3 separate regions of the Homo sapiens genome follow, and regions 1 and 2 are each linked to region 3. The links are contacts of gene promoters, found by promoter capture Hi-C in human tissues and cell types (Jung and others, 2019). All regions are on one chromosome and are shown on one strand. The core of a region is centred on a gene start or on the middle of the fragment in contact, and the rest is flanking DNA. Distances in the headings are between cores, read along the strand shown. Region 1 overlaps LINC03009 (long intergenic non-protein coding RNA 3009). Region 2 overlaps ZP3 (zona pellucida glycoprotein 3). Region 3 holds the start of UPK3B (uroplakin 3B).

Region 1 (4,148 bases), core at 1,158-3,657, 78 kb before region 3:
TGTTTCTGAGATCCTAGGTCAGGAGGCCTTGCCCTGTGAGGAGTAGCAGGGGTGGGGACCCTCATGGAAAACAGTGTGGCCACTTTTCTGTAAGGCAGCTCTGCTATGCTGGGGGTCTTCATTAGTCCACAGTCAAGGTGGTCTCTCCCATGGGTGGAGGGGTCCTAGGGTATTTCCTGTGCCCAGGATTGCAAAGGGGTCCATGGCAGAAGTGTGGTCCCCAGGGACCCTCACTCACTGACCATTTTCCCGAAGTGGGGGCCTCCCCTGGCTCTGTACCACTCCGGGTGGGCAATTGTCATATCTCACGCTTCTCCATTCTCTGTGGGTTGTGTTGTTTTCTTCATGAATTCCGAAGTTTACTCTTGGATGATCTAGTTGAAGAGCTAGTGTTTACTGATCACACTGTCTTCTCTCCTTGAAATTGGTGCATATTAGCTGCTTCTAGTCAGCCCTCTTGCCCAGAATCCCCAAAAAGAAAATTGTTAGTTCAGGGATTGTAGCTTTTTTTTTGTTTTAACATGAGATATGTGATTATAATAAACTTCAAGTATTCAGGACCATTTTATGGATAAAAGGAGAATCTAACTTTTAAAAGTTGGGAAAATGATTTAATATTGGAAACTCAAGAGTTACAAATTCTTACAGTTATTTCAAAACTAAAGGTTTCTTTAGAGCTCCAAATTTAGAGCTATAAATCCTATATCCGTAATCAAATCCAGTACTGATAACAATGAACAATTGCTGAAGAGTAATATTCTCTCTCTCTTTACCAATGTAAGCCTTAGCATTGGTACTTTCTTGTATTATCTTTTTGCATGCCATTATGATCAGAAAAAACAAAAAGCTACCCAGAAAGGGCAGCCACATTCTAAATGATAGCTTTTACCTCCCTGAGGAGCTGCTAGTACCTACCTGATTAGAATTCATTTGTAAACAACAGAGGCCTTTTAAATCTAAATTACATTTCCTAATAATTTGTTTCTGTTTATTCAGTTTACATTAAGAAACTCTTCATTCATTGAGCAAATACCTACTGAAACCTATATTATGCCAGGCATTCTGATAAATACTAGGTATGTATCAATAAATAAAAATTACTCCATTTTCAGAAATATTTTGAATAACTCCTATGTATTAAGCAGGAATTTTTTAAATATACTAAAAACAGACAAAAATCCTGATCCTCATAGGGCTGCAGTCTGATGGAGGAAAGGGGAAATCATGCAAACAAATACATATATCTCTAAAATCTCTAAAATAATGTCAATAAAGGATTAGAATTATAAGGAGAAATAAAGCAGAGAGAACTGGAGAAATCCTGGGTGTGATGTTTAAGTCACAGTGGTCAGGACACACAGTGGTTTAAGTCATCTCTGGAAGTGATTTTGGGGACACAGATTTGAATAAAAGAGAGATTGAACTATAGAATATTTATGGGAAGAGAGCCAGGCGCAGTGGTTCACCCCTGTAATCCCAGCACTTTGGGAGGCCTAGACGGGCAGATCACAGGGTCAAGAGATCAAGACCATCCTGGCCAACATGGTAAAACCCTGTCTTTACTAAAGTTACAAAAATTAGCTTGGTTTGGTGGCACATGCCTGTAGTCTCAGCTACTTGGGAGGCTGAGGCAGGAGAATCGCTTGAATCCAGGAGGTGGAGGTTGCAGTGAGCTGAGATCACACCACTACACTCCAGCCTGGGTGGTGACAGAGCAAGACTCCATCAAAAAAAAAAAAAAAAAAAGAATATTTGTGGAAAGAAATTCATGAGAAGGTTGAGAAAACTGTGCCCGGCAGAAAGGAACTATTGCAAAGCCCTTGAGGTAGGAAAGTGCTTGACTTATTCAAACAGAAGCTAGAAAGCTAGTGGAGTGAGCAACAGGAAGAAGGGAAGGAAGTGAGATTGAGGAGGAGGATGCAATGCTAGATTACATAGAACAATATTGTTTAGAGTTTAAAAATATGAACTTTGTTCTATGTGTAATGAGAAGCCAATAAAAGTTTTGAACATGAAAATGACTACTGTGGTTAGTTTGCAGATGATGGAATACAATGTGTAATAATGTAAACAGGAAGACCAATTAGAGAACTATTGCAAGGGCTAAAGTTAAATTAGAAACAAAAAACAATGATGACTGGGCAAGGATATCAGACGATGCTAGATGGTAAATTTAGGATGCTAAATTTCAGATTTACTGGGTTTTAACAAAGTTTAAAGTTATTCAAATTTTTAATGTGAGCAACAGTGAGAAATAGTATTTTCATTTCCTAAGATGAGAAAGAATAGAAGGACATGTTTGATGGGAGGGTCGGCAGGAATCAGAAAAAAGGCTTTGTTTTGGATTTCTTTAGTTAGAAATATAGATTTTGCAGTTGAACATATGAATTTGGAATTCAGGAAACAAATTGGCATCAATAATATAATGTTTGGAAACTTTAATGTTGAGGTGATGTTTAAAGACTTAGGACCCGATAAGATTATTACTGAGGGAGTATGCAAAAGAAGAAGTCTGAAGACTCAGCTAGGATGCTTCAACTTTCAGAAGTTCAGAAGAAGGTATAATAGAATAATCAGTGTTACAGGCTGAATGTTGTCCTCCCAAAATATATGTTGAAATCTGAAGCTTCAGTACCTGTGCATGTGATCTTCTTTAGAAATAAGATCTTTTAAATGTAATCAAATTCAAAGGAGATCATTAGAATAGGGATCCAATATGACTGGTGACCTTATAAGAAGAAGGGATAGAAACACACAGAAGAGAATGTCATGTGAAGACATGGATGCATGAGGTGAGAATGACATGATATTGGAGGCAGAGATTGAAGTGCTGCTGCTACAAGTAGAGGAATGACAAAGATTGCTGGCAAACCACCAGAAGCCAGGAAGAGACAAGAAAGAATTCTTCCTTTATGAGTTTCAGAGGGGAGCATAGTCCTGTCAACATGTTGATTTTGGACTTCAATTCTCCAGAACAGGGAGAAAATAAATTTCTGTTTATTGTAAACTCCCCATTTGTGGCACTTTAAGAAGGCCACCCTAGAAAACCTAAGTCAGCAAGGGAGGAGAGAAATAAGTAACTATGTGGGAATTGACAGTAGTAGATAAAATAAGACGAGGATTGAGAATTGACCTTTGAAGATCACACGTGAACAAAACAGTAGGAGCATCTATGATGACTGCGGATGGAAAGTTGTGGGGTTGCAGATTCGAGAGATAAAGGGATTTTCACTTCCTGCCAAGAGGGAGTAACAGAGACTGGACTTACTCTCCCACATGAAGCAACTAAAAAAGTGGACAAAATATTTAAAATAAAAGTTCTCAATACATTGACCATTAAAAAATGAAAGACAATGATCCATTGACAAAAAGCATGAGCCTTTTGATTGCTCTATTTACTGCCTGGAGAAAGCTTCCAGGTCATAGCACAAGGAAGACCTGGGTGTTTTCTAACACCAACAACCAATTTTCCAATTCTCTGATTTTTTACACCAACCAGAGGTCCTACAATTAAATTCCATTATGACACTAACTACCGAGAGTTTGCATGAGACTCTATAGGTTTGAAAGCTTCAGTCCCACAAGACTGACCACACTTCAGACTCCAGTTGCTAATGGGGTGCCTAGACTACCTACCTTTATGCTTGGCCAACTACAAAGTAAGGGGTTCCCAGGACATCCCCCCATGGTTAAGAATTTGCTGTAGCAATTTACAGACACTGGAAACAGCTTTACAGACTATTAAAAGATAAAATTAGGCAAATTAAAATCTTAATGAATTTATTTGAGCATGCAGCAATATATGGATTGGCCAGCACCAGAAAACAAGCAGTTAGTGCTCCATTAAGGGGGCATGAGGCAAACACTTTTATAGGGGATGCATGGAAACATGACAAAGAAAATATTTGACTAGTTAAAGTGGAAGTCCTTAGAGGTTGACTGGCAGTAGCTGATTAGCTAAGCTTAAGTTTCATGTTACTGTTGACACTGAGTTGGGTTTTTGTTTGCTTCTGTAAGAACCCAAGGTGCTAGTTGTCTCAGCCTATTGGTCTCCCGATTAATTATTTTAATGTTACTATTGCCAGTTTATTATAAAGCTCAGGAACAGCCAAATGGAAGAGACGCAAAGGTCAAAGTATGGATGAAAG
Region 2 (4,510 bases), core at 547-3,046, 80 kb after region 3:
CAGGTTTGGGGTCTGATAGCAGGCCCTGCACAGTACTCCACAGGATGCTTGAGAGGGGAATCAGCTAAGGCCATCTTTTTTTTTTTTTTTTGAGACGGAGTCTCACTTTGTCTCCCAGGCTGGAGTACAGTGGCACGATCTCGGCTCACTGCAAGCTCCACCACCCAGGTTCACGCCATTCTCCTGCCTCAGCCTCCCAAATAGCTGGGACTACAGGCACCCGCCACTAGGCCTGGCTAATTTTTTGTATTTTTAGTAGAGACGGGGTTTCACCACGTTAGCCAGGATGGTCTCCATCTCCTGACCTCATGATCCGCCCGCCTCGGCCTCCCAAAGTGCTGGGATTATAGGCGTGAGCCACCATGCCCAGCCAAGGCCATCCTTTAGAGATCAAAGACAGGCCCTTAGGTCTTGAGATGCTACCGAGAGCCTGGACCCACACCAGTGACTGGGAAGTCCATGGAAGCAGGTCTGGGTATCTGCAGATACCTACCCTGCTAACCCCATAGGATCTGCTGGAAGAAGCTACTCCAAGTGATGGATGCATCTATTGATAACCAGACTCAGGTATCTGGAGCCAGGTTAAAGCATCCCAGCCTACAACCAGCCTCTCTAATACTACCTACAGCCAATGGACCAGGTGAGCCACCATCCTCAGGGGTCAGGCCCAGAGACTGAAGTCAGACTTCCACGGTCACAGGACAGCTTCAGTCCCTCATGCCGACTGGGCAGCCTGCCCTTGACTCCTCTATCCTCCTCCATCTCCCCTACCCACATAGGCACCAAGCTCCTCCAACTGCTCTTAGCTCCTGCGAGTCAGCCTCTACGGTCCCTGCAACCATGGGTCAGGCCTCATTGAATCCCAGTTTTCCAGCCTCCCAGCTGGTTCTCACTAGTTCCCATTTGTCTTCAGCACCAGCCACCAGGTGACCCTGGGTGGAGATTCAGTCCTCACCCATTCCAGGAGGGGCACCTGTGGTGAGGCTGGTGAGCCCATCTGTCTGGCTCCCTCATTACCCCAGTCCCTGGGCTCCAGCCCCCAGGCTGCATGTCACCTACTAAGGGCACACTACCCTCCCGTTGGGTGTGTGGCCACATGGCTCTGCCCAGGCCATCTCAGCCTCAAGGTCCCCCACTCCAGGATCCTGTTCTAGGATAACCCCTACCATGACCCCTCCCAGGGGCATGGCTCATCCCTCATGATGTCCTGACTGGTATCAGCTCCCTACCCACTTCACACTAGCATTTTCTTTTTGAGATGGAGTCTTGCTCTGTTGCCCAGGCTGGAGTGCAATGGTGCCATCTCAGCTCACTGCAACCTCTGCATCCTGGGTTCAAATGATTCTCCTGCCTCAGCCTCCTGAGTAGCTGAGATTACAGGCACGCGCTACCACACTCGGCTAATTTTTTTGTGTTTTTAGTAGAGATGGGTTTCACCATGTTGGCCAGGCTGGTCCTGAACTCCTTACCTCGTGAGCTGCCCACCTTGGCCTCCCAAAGGGCTGGTATTACAGGCGTGAGCCACCATACCTGGCCGCATCATCTTATACCCACTCCCAGACTGGTTCAAGGGCAGGGACAAAGTCCCCTGCACCCCATGCTGAGGCCAGCACAGGACCCAGTGTTGTCCTTGGGAGCCATAGTTTCTCCTCCCACTTCAGGGCCTGAGTTCACAGGCACGTGCTTGATGCCAGGGGCTTGAGGACCACAGAAGAGTAGGCCACCACCGCCCAGGTCAGATTCTAGAACGCAGCCTAGCACTATTTTATTATTATTTTTTGCGATGGAGTATCGCTTTGTTGCCCAGAATGGAGTACAGCAGTGCAATCTCGGCTCACTGCAGCCTCTGCCTCCTGGGTTCAAGCAATTCTCCTGCCTCAGCCTCCCAAGTAGCTGGGATTATAGACACCCGGCTAATTTCTGTGTTTTTAGTAGAGATGGGGTTTCACCATGTAGGCCAGACTGGTCTTGAACTCCTTGACCTCAAGCGATCCACCTGTCAGCCTCCCAAAGTGCTAGGATTACAGGATGAGCCACTGCACCTGGCCCCAGCCTAGCACTATTGGAAGGCCATTTCTGAACCCTAAGGGCCGAGGCTGGCATAGTACCACCACCAGGGCTGAGCAGCTCTGAAGCTTCCGCTAAGCTGCAGTTGGGCTCCTGATACTCTTCTGGGGCTCGAACTAGACTCAGCAGGCCCCACAATCCCACGCAGTACAGTAACCACAGCTGCAAATGCTTCGGTAGGTAGTTCTAATAGCCATGCTGCAAGCTGTAGCCCATAGCCAGCCCACTTGCCTGCAGCCACACCCAAGGGGCTTTTGCACCAGGGGCCATGAGTCAGTCCCACACCGACCTGGGGTAGCGGCACTCGATGGGAATCTCTGCGCGGTTAGTCCTCACGATGGACAGGTTTCCCACGGGGCGGGGGTCATGGAGCAGGAAGGTGCTGTACACCAGGGCATCGTCAGTTACCTGGAGGAAAGGTGAGAAGTTAATGCTGCCGGCCATCACCTGCCCGGGTACTCCCAAGCCATACCTGAGTGCTCAGGGAGGGCAGCCCACAAGGGGACAGAAAGACCACAGGGTCAAGGCCAGGTGCAGTGACTCATGCCTGTAACCCCAGCACTTTGGGAGGCCAAGGATTGCTTGAGGCCAGGAGTTTGAGACTGGCCTGGGAAACATAGCAAGACCCCATCTCTACAAAAGAGAACACAGGCTCTGCCACTGGTCAGGAAAGAGGCAGGACAGGTACTGTCTTTGTACCTCGGAATCTTTACCTGACACCACATATTGACACCACCACAGGCAGACTGGATCAACCACATGGCAGATACCATGTAACACCCAAGCAATAGAGGCATCAGGGCACATGACACATCCCTTCTGACACTCCCCCTCCATGCCCCCCAGTACATACAGTTTCCTCTTTCAGGAGAGGCCCAGGGCCAAGATAGCCGCCAGGAAGCAGTCAGGAAGTGCCCAGCTGTTAACACTTATCAGCTTCTGGCTGGGCGCTGTGGCTCACGCCCGTAATCCCAGCACTTTGGGAGGCTGAGGAGGGCAGATCATCTGAGGTCAGGAGTTTGAGACCAGCCTGACCAACATGGTGAAACCCCATCTCTACTTAAAAAAAAAAAATTAGCTGAGTGTGGTGGCACGTGCCTGTAATCCCAGCTACTCGGGAGACTGAGGCAGAAGAATCGCTTGAACCCGGGAGGCAGAGGTTGCAGTGAGCGGAGATCGTGCCATTGCATTCTAGCCTGGGCAACAAGAGCAAAACTCTCAAAAACAAAAACAAACAAAAAACACAACAACCCACATCAGCTTCTAACCTATTCAAGCCCATTTCACATAAGGTGGGGGAGACTGATTCAGAGGTTGCCTGAGGCAGGAAGAGCACAGGTGAGTACTACTGGGGAAATTTGCATCGTCCAATAGGGCTGCAGAAGGCAGGGCCTGCCTGGGAGAGAGTTTTATAGCAAACACCTAAGTTCGAAGATTTTGCTAGAATATTAGAAAAATGTGACGCTAGGCCCTACCCCAGTAGAGTGAAGGTATGAGATTCTCTTGAGAATCAGTATTTTTACAACCTTTCCAGGTGATTAGCATAGAGCCAGCACTGGAAACCCCTACTTTAGTCACTTCCTAACCACCTTTTGTTTTTTTGAGATGCAGTCTTGCTCTGTCACCCAGGCTGGAGTGCAGTGGCACGAACTCGGCTCACTGCAACCTCCGCCTCCCAGGTTCAAGCAATTCTCTGCTTCAGCCTCTGAGTAGCTGGAATTACAGGCACGTGCCACCGTGCCTTTTTTTTTTTTTTTTAAATAGAGACAGGGTTTCGCCATGTTAGCCAGGCTGGTCTCGAACTCCTGGCCTCAGGTGATCCACCTGCCTCAGCCTCCCAAAGTGCTGGATTACAGGTGTGAGCCACCATGACTCAACCCCCAACCACCTATTCTAAGCTCACTATCCCCACCTCTCATCTCAGGGAGCTTATTTAAAAACTACTTGAGGGCTGGGTGCAGTGGCTCATGCCTGTAATCCCAGCACTTTGGGAGGGAAGAGGATTGCTTGAGGCCAGGAAGTCACGACCAGCCTGGGCAATAGAGCTAGACCCCATCTCTACAAAAACATAACTTGGCTGGGCACGGTGGCATGTGCCTGTAGTCCATCCCAGCTATTCAGGAGGCTGAGGCAGGAGGATGGCTTGAGCCTAGGAGGTCGAAGTTGCCCAAGAGCTCAGGTGGCTGCCTGGCCCTGACCAAACTCGATCTTCAGGGAATAGTCCTAGACCTTATTAGCAAGTGCCCCAGCACAGACAGAACCAGCATAGCTCGTGGGGCCCCTTATTCAAAAGTTATTACCATTTCAGGGCAAGAGGGCATTCCATTAAGCACTGGGCCCCACAGAACTGCACAGGTTGTATACCTGGGAAACTGGCCATGGCTGTATTTTTTTTTTTTTTTTTTTTGAGACGGAGTCTCACTCTGTTGCCCAGGCTGGAGTG
Region 3 (4,511 bases), core at 1,876-4,375:
GCCCAGCAGTCAAGGCCTTCAGATGACAAGACTTCCACCCCACACCCCCTGACCTCTGAAGCCGTCTCCCAGGAGACCCCCACCCCCGACACCTGGGCCGTGGCACTCGAAACTTCTGGGCTTGGTACATTCACGCTTGCCCCTTGGGGTCTGCTCAGAACTCAAGCTGGCTGCCTCCCCAGCCAGCCCCGACCCTGACCCTGACCTCCTCCACACCCTCTTCCTCCCTCCCAGCAGGGGCTGACACAGGCTGACTCCCTACAGGAGGGGGGAGGCTGTCTGTGCCCACAATGTGGCAAACGCTTGCGGATGGGCCGAGATGGTGCCCCTGCCGAGGGGGCTGGCTGGGTGCCCCACTCCCCCAGCATGAGGTTCTGTTGGGGGCTGGGCCCGACTTGGACATGGCCTCCAGGCCCCCAGCCCTGTGGGAGCAGGGGTGTGGCCAGCTCAGCAGAGGCGGCCCAGAGAGATCGTGAGTCCACTGGGGGCAGCGCCCCTCCTGCCCAGCGCTACCTTGGTGGAGAGTGATGGGGTCTGACCACTTGGTCTCAGCCCTGGGTGAGCCCCTGGTGTCCATCAGGAGGAACTTCACCCTGGGGATGGGAGGTGGTGGGGGAGGAGGGGAGAGCTTCAGAGGCTGGGACCACCCTGGGCAGGGCCAAGCCCCAGGCAGCTCCTCTGGGGCCCTCCCATGGATGTGGAGTGGGGGTGCCCGTCAAGAGCAGCAGCCCATGGCCTGGCCCTGCTCTGAGAATCCCCTGAGATGTCTCCAGCCACTTGGCCTGTGCCACCACCCCTCATCCCCCCGAGCAATTGCTCTCCAGACACCAGACCTGGGCCGGGGATGCTGGTTTAGGGGCCCTGGTTCCTAAATGTCACAAGCCAAAAGAGCAGGTGAAGGTGGCTTAGCAGGGCACATGGGGCAGGGGTCACAGGCCTCCCAGAGGGGCAGCAGTAGCCGGGGGCAGGGGGCTCAATCACCAGCAGCCTGAGGACCCAGGGCACCAGGAGCCCCGCAGAGGGCCTCGGTTTGTCTCTTTGCAGGGCTGGGAGCTCTGCAAGGCCTGGGAAGCGGGGAAGGACCTGGCAGGTTGGCATTGAAAAGAGTGGCTGCGGGGGATGGGGCGGGGCATGGAGCTGGAAGGCTGAGCCAGGGTGAGGCAGCGGGGAGGGCAGAGGGTGGACCTGGAGAGTGGGTGAGAGGGCAGAAGGGGGCTGGGCGGAGCGGGGTGCTGTTCCAGCCTCACCACGCCCTGCCTTCCCGGCTTCCCCTGGGCCTGGTCTTCCTGAGGTCACCCCGCCTCCTCCTGTGTCCGGACAGTCCTGACCTGGACACACTGCCTGCTTCCCCATCCCGGCTCCACCCCGATGTTGGCAGGCCACTTGACCTCCTGTGCCTCAGTTTCCTCATCTGTAAGAGCGGGTAGGAGCCACCTCTCCTGCTCCCTGCCTAATACCGACGAGACTGGGTCTGAACTCGGCCCCCGAGTTTCCTGCCAGATCTGCCCGTGGTGGGGGACAGGGGCCTAGACTTTGGGGAAGCTGCCCCCTCCCACCTTGACTAAGATCCCGCCTCCCCAAGGTGCCCACCTGCTCCTCCTGGGCCTTGCCCGGCCCCAGCGGGGGTGAGCACTGTTGCTGACTCTACAGTGGAAGGAGCCCGGGCTTGCAAAGGGGAGGACCGGGGCCGGGGACCCCTCCCTGGAAAGATGCTAGAGAGAGCATCCCTGGTCCCAGCAATGCGTCCGCCCCAAGCACAGCCCCAGTCCCAGGGCTCCGGTGGGGACCACCCACCGATAGGGTCCAGGGCCAGGGAGGGGCGCGTTGCAGAAGGGCTGCTGGTGGCAGCCGTGGTCATGGCCCACCCGCAGCACGGGGGCGCCTCCGCTGCCCGCCATGGGGTCGCCACAGGGCAGCTGGTCCGGAGACAGGGGCAGCGTCATGTAGTGGCCATCGGTCAGCAGCTGTGGGGAGGCCGGAATGTCAGCCAGTGTCTCCGGGTTCTGGAAGCCCCTGGAGGCTGCAGGAGGAGAGAACAGATGGAGGTGGGAGGGGAGAAAGCAGCTTTGTCCTTATGAGTGGGGGTTCTGTGTTCGCCCAGTCTCCAGCCCTGACCCCCCATGCCACCTCCTCCCTCAGGGCCCCCAGAGATAGTCCAGACCCAGTCGACTTTGTTACCCCTGAAGGGGAGCTTCCCTCTGGCCTTTTGTCCCCACCCAGAGCCAGGAGTGGGGAGCAGCGGGCAGTCCCAACCTGCCCAGCCCCAGCCCCAGCCCCATTGCAGTGCACCGGCCCTGCCCCACAGGAGGCCACATCCTCCCAGGTCGCAGCCTCGGTTCCCTGTCCAAAGGAAGAACTACTTGGATTCAGAGAAAGGGTTGCAGAGCCCTTGACAGCTGACAAACCCACCACTAGCACTACTCCCGGGATTTGGTGTTCACTACGTGTGTATTTTTCAATACACATATTACCCCTTTAGATAAAGCCCAATTCATCCACACCTACTCTCCCAAAGGCCCCCACAGGGGCTCAATCATTGAAGGCGCTTGCTGGTGAGGGGCTCCTAGGGCCCACCACTCTCCTCAGCCGTCACCCTCACCCAGGCCCCACAGCAGTCCCCGTACCATTGCTGAAGGCCACCACGAGCCAGACGGTATCGCTGGCGCTGGCAAGCCCATCGAAGACACAGCGCGGCTGCTCCAGGGAGAAGGTGGTGGCTGTGACCTTCCCTTCCAGGTCCCAAGCTGTTATCTGTGGTGTGTAGGGCACCAGCTCTGTGGCCACGGGGGACAAAAGGTGAGCCACGGAGACGGGCGTGGGGGTCCCTGGGGCTGCCTCTCCCAATCGGAGGGGGGCGGGCGCCCAGGGTCCAATCACTCCAGCAGGGCCCCCAGCCCCTTGGGTCTGGCTGGACGCGTCCATCCAGGACCCCCACTCACCCAGGCTCAGGCTGGGCCGGAGACAGTTCAACGCCAGGAGGAGCATCTGCAGCCCTAGGTGAGGCTGCCCCCAGGGTAGCCCCATGACAGCTGCCAGCACCCGGGAGGCTCAGGGGCTGGTCTGGCTGCTTCGGGCTGCACCTCACCCCCAACAGCTTGGCCCTGGAGAAGCTGGTTAATCAGGCTGCCCCAGGGGCTGGAAAGACCTGCAAATGTAAGTGCACCCCACCCCCTTCCTCCCAGGCCAGCCCACAGCAGGGAGGAGCTGGGGGGACTCTGGTGGGAGGCAGGCCAGTATCCAGCCCCACTGCCAGGGCCAAGGGAGAGGGGCCACTGGAACCCCAGATGCCAGCCAGGCCATCCCGGAGCCTGGATTGGGGCCCCTCCCAGTCTCTCCGCCCTGGGGAGGAGGGTCTGGCTTTTGGAAACAGGCTCAGGACCACATGCCTGAGATTCCTGTGCCCCAGGTGCCAGGAGCCTCCCTCTGCCTTCTGTCCCCACCCAGAGTCAGGAGTGGGGAGTAGCAGGCAGCCCCAACCTGCCCAGCCCCATCCCCATCACAGCACGCTGGCCCTGCCCCCCACGAGGCCACATCCTCCCAGTTCGCAGCCTGGGTTCCCTGTCCACAGGAAGAAGAACTTGGATTCAGAGAAAGGGCTGCAGAGCCCTTGACAGCTGACAAGCCCGCCACTTAAACACTACTCCCGGGATTTGGCGCTCACTATGTGTGTATTTTTCAAGACATAACTCACATACCTTCACAACCTTCACAGCTCAGTGGCTTAAATATATATATGTCACCCAGGGAGGTCAGTTCACAGCTAACTGGAGCCTCAAACTCCCAGGTTCAGTTAATCCTCCCACCTCAGCCTTCCCAGTAGCTGGAACCACAGGCACACAACACCATGCTCCGGCTAATTTTTAAAATTTATTTAATTAATTTTTTTTTAAGATGGAGTCTCCTTTGTTGTCCAGGCTGGAGTGCAGTGGCGTGATCTGGGCTCACTGCAACCTCCGCCTCCTGGGTTCAAGCGATTCTCCTGCCTCAGCCTCCCAAGTAGCTGGGATTACAGGCATGTGCCCCACGGCCAGCTAATTTTTGTATTTTTAGTAGGGACGGGGTTTCACCATGTTGGCTTGGCTGGTCTCAAATTCCTGATCTCAAGTGATCCACCCGCCTTGGCCTCCCAAAGTGCTGGGATTACAGGCATGTGCCACCGTGCCTGGCACCCCCGCCAATTTTTTTTTTGTTTTTTTTGAAACGGAGTTTTCACTCTTGTTGCCCAGGCTGGAGTACAATGGCTCGATCTTGGCTCACCGCAACCTCCACCTCCTGGGTTCAAGTGATTCTCCTGCCTCAGCCTCCTGAGTAGCTGGGATTACAGGCATGTGCCACCACACCTGTCTAATTTTGTATTTTTAGTAGAGATAGGGTTTCTCCACGTTGGTGAGGCTGGTCTCGAACTCCTGACCTCAGGTGATCCACCCACCTCAGCCTCCCAAAGCGCTGGGATTGCAGGTGTGAGCCACTGCGCCCGGCTGGCCAATTTTTAAAAATGTATTTTTTATAGA

The links. The method cuts DNA at HindIII sites, captures the fragments that hold promoters and counts their contacts. A contact is called where the count stands out against the background at its distance.
Region 1: a contact is called between a fragment that was not itself captured here and the fragment with the promoter of UPK3B in region 3, in 3 of the 25 tissues and cell types used here (dorsolateral prefrontal cortex, mesenchymal stem cells and stomach).
Region 2: a fragment that was not itself captured here is called in contact with the fragment with the promoter of UPK3B in region 3 in 2 of the 25 tissues and cell types used here (mesendoderm cells and spleen).

The regions. Positions count from the first base shown.
Region 1 is chr7:76,586,557-76,590,704 of GRCh38, reverse strand. The region is part of intron 2 of LINC03009 (long intergenic non-protein coding RNA 3009); the gene reads right to left. Among named protein-coding and RNA genes, the nearest start is that of POMZP3, 39 kb to the left of the region's middle. The HindIII fragment of the contact is 4,977 bases long and covers 1-4,148 here.
Region 2 is chr7:76,427,480-76,431,989 of GRCh38, reverse strand. ZP3 (zona pellucida glycoprotein 3) reads right to left here. Exons shown (of 8, transcript NM_001110354.2): 2 at 2,357-2,475. Among named protein-coding and RNA genes, the nearest start is that of ZP3, 4.8 kb to the right of the region's middle. The HindIII fragment of the contact is 7,406 bases long and covers 1-4,510 here.
Region 3 is chr7:76,509,166-76,513,676 of GRCh38, reverse strand. UPK3B (uroplakin 3B) reads right to left here and starts at 3,125. Exons shown (of 6, transcript NM_001347684.2): 1 at 2,940-3,125; 2 at 2,625-2,774; 3 at 1,795-2,020; 4 at 514-593. The coding sequence starts at 3,024. LOC124901675 (a long non-coding RNA gene) reads left to right here and starts at 2,944. Exons shown (of 2, transcript XR_007060388.1): 1 at 2,944-3,153; 2 at 3,569-4,511. RefSeq lists enhancers at 1-457, 458-1,109, 1,110-1,761, 2,515-3,087, 3,088-3,660. The HindIII fragment of the contact is 20,174 bases long and covers 1-4,511 here.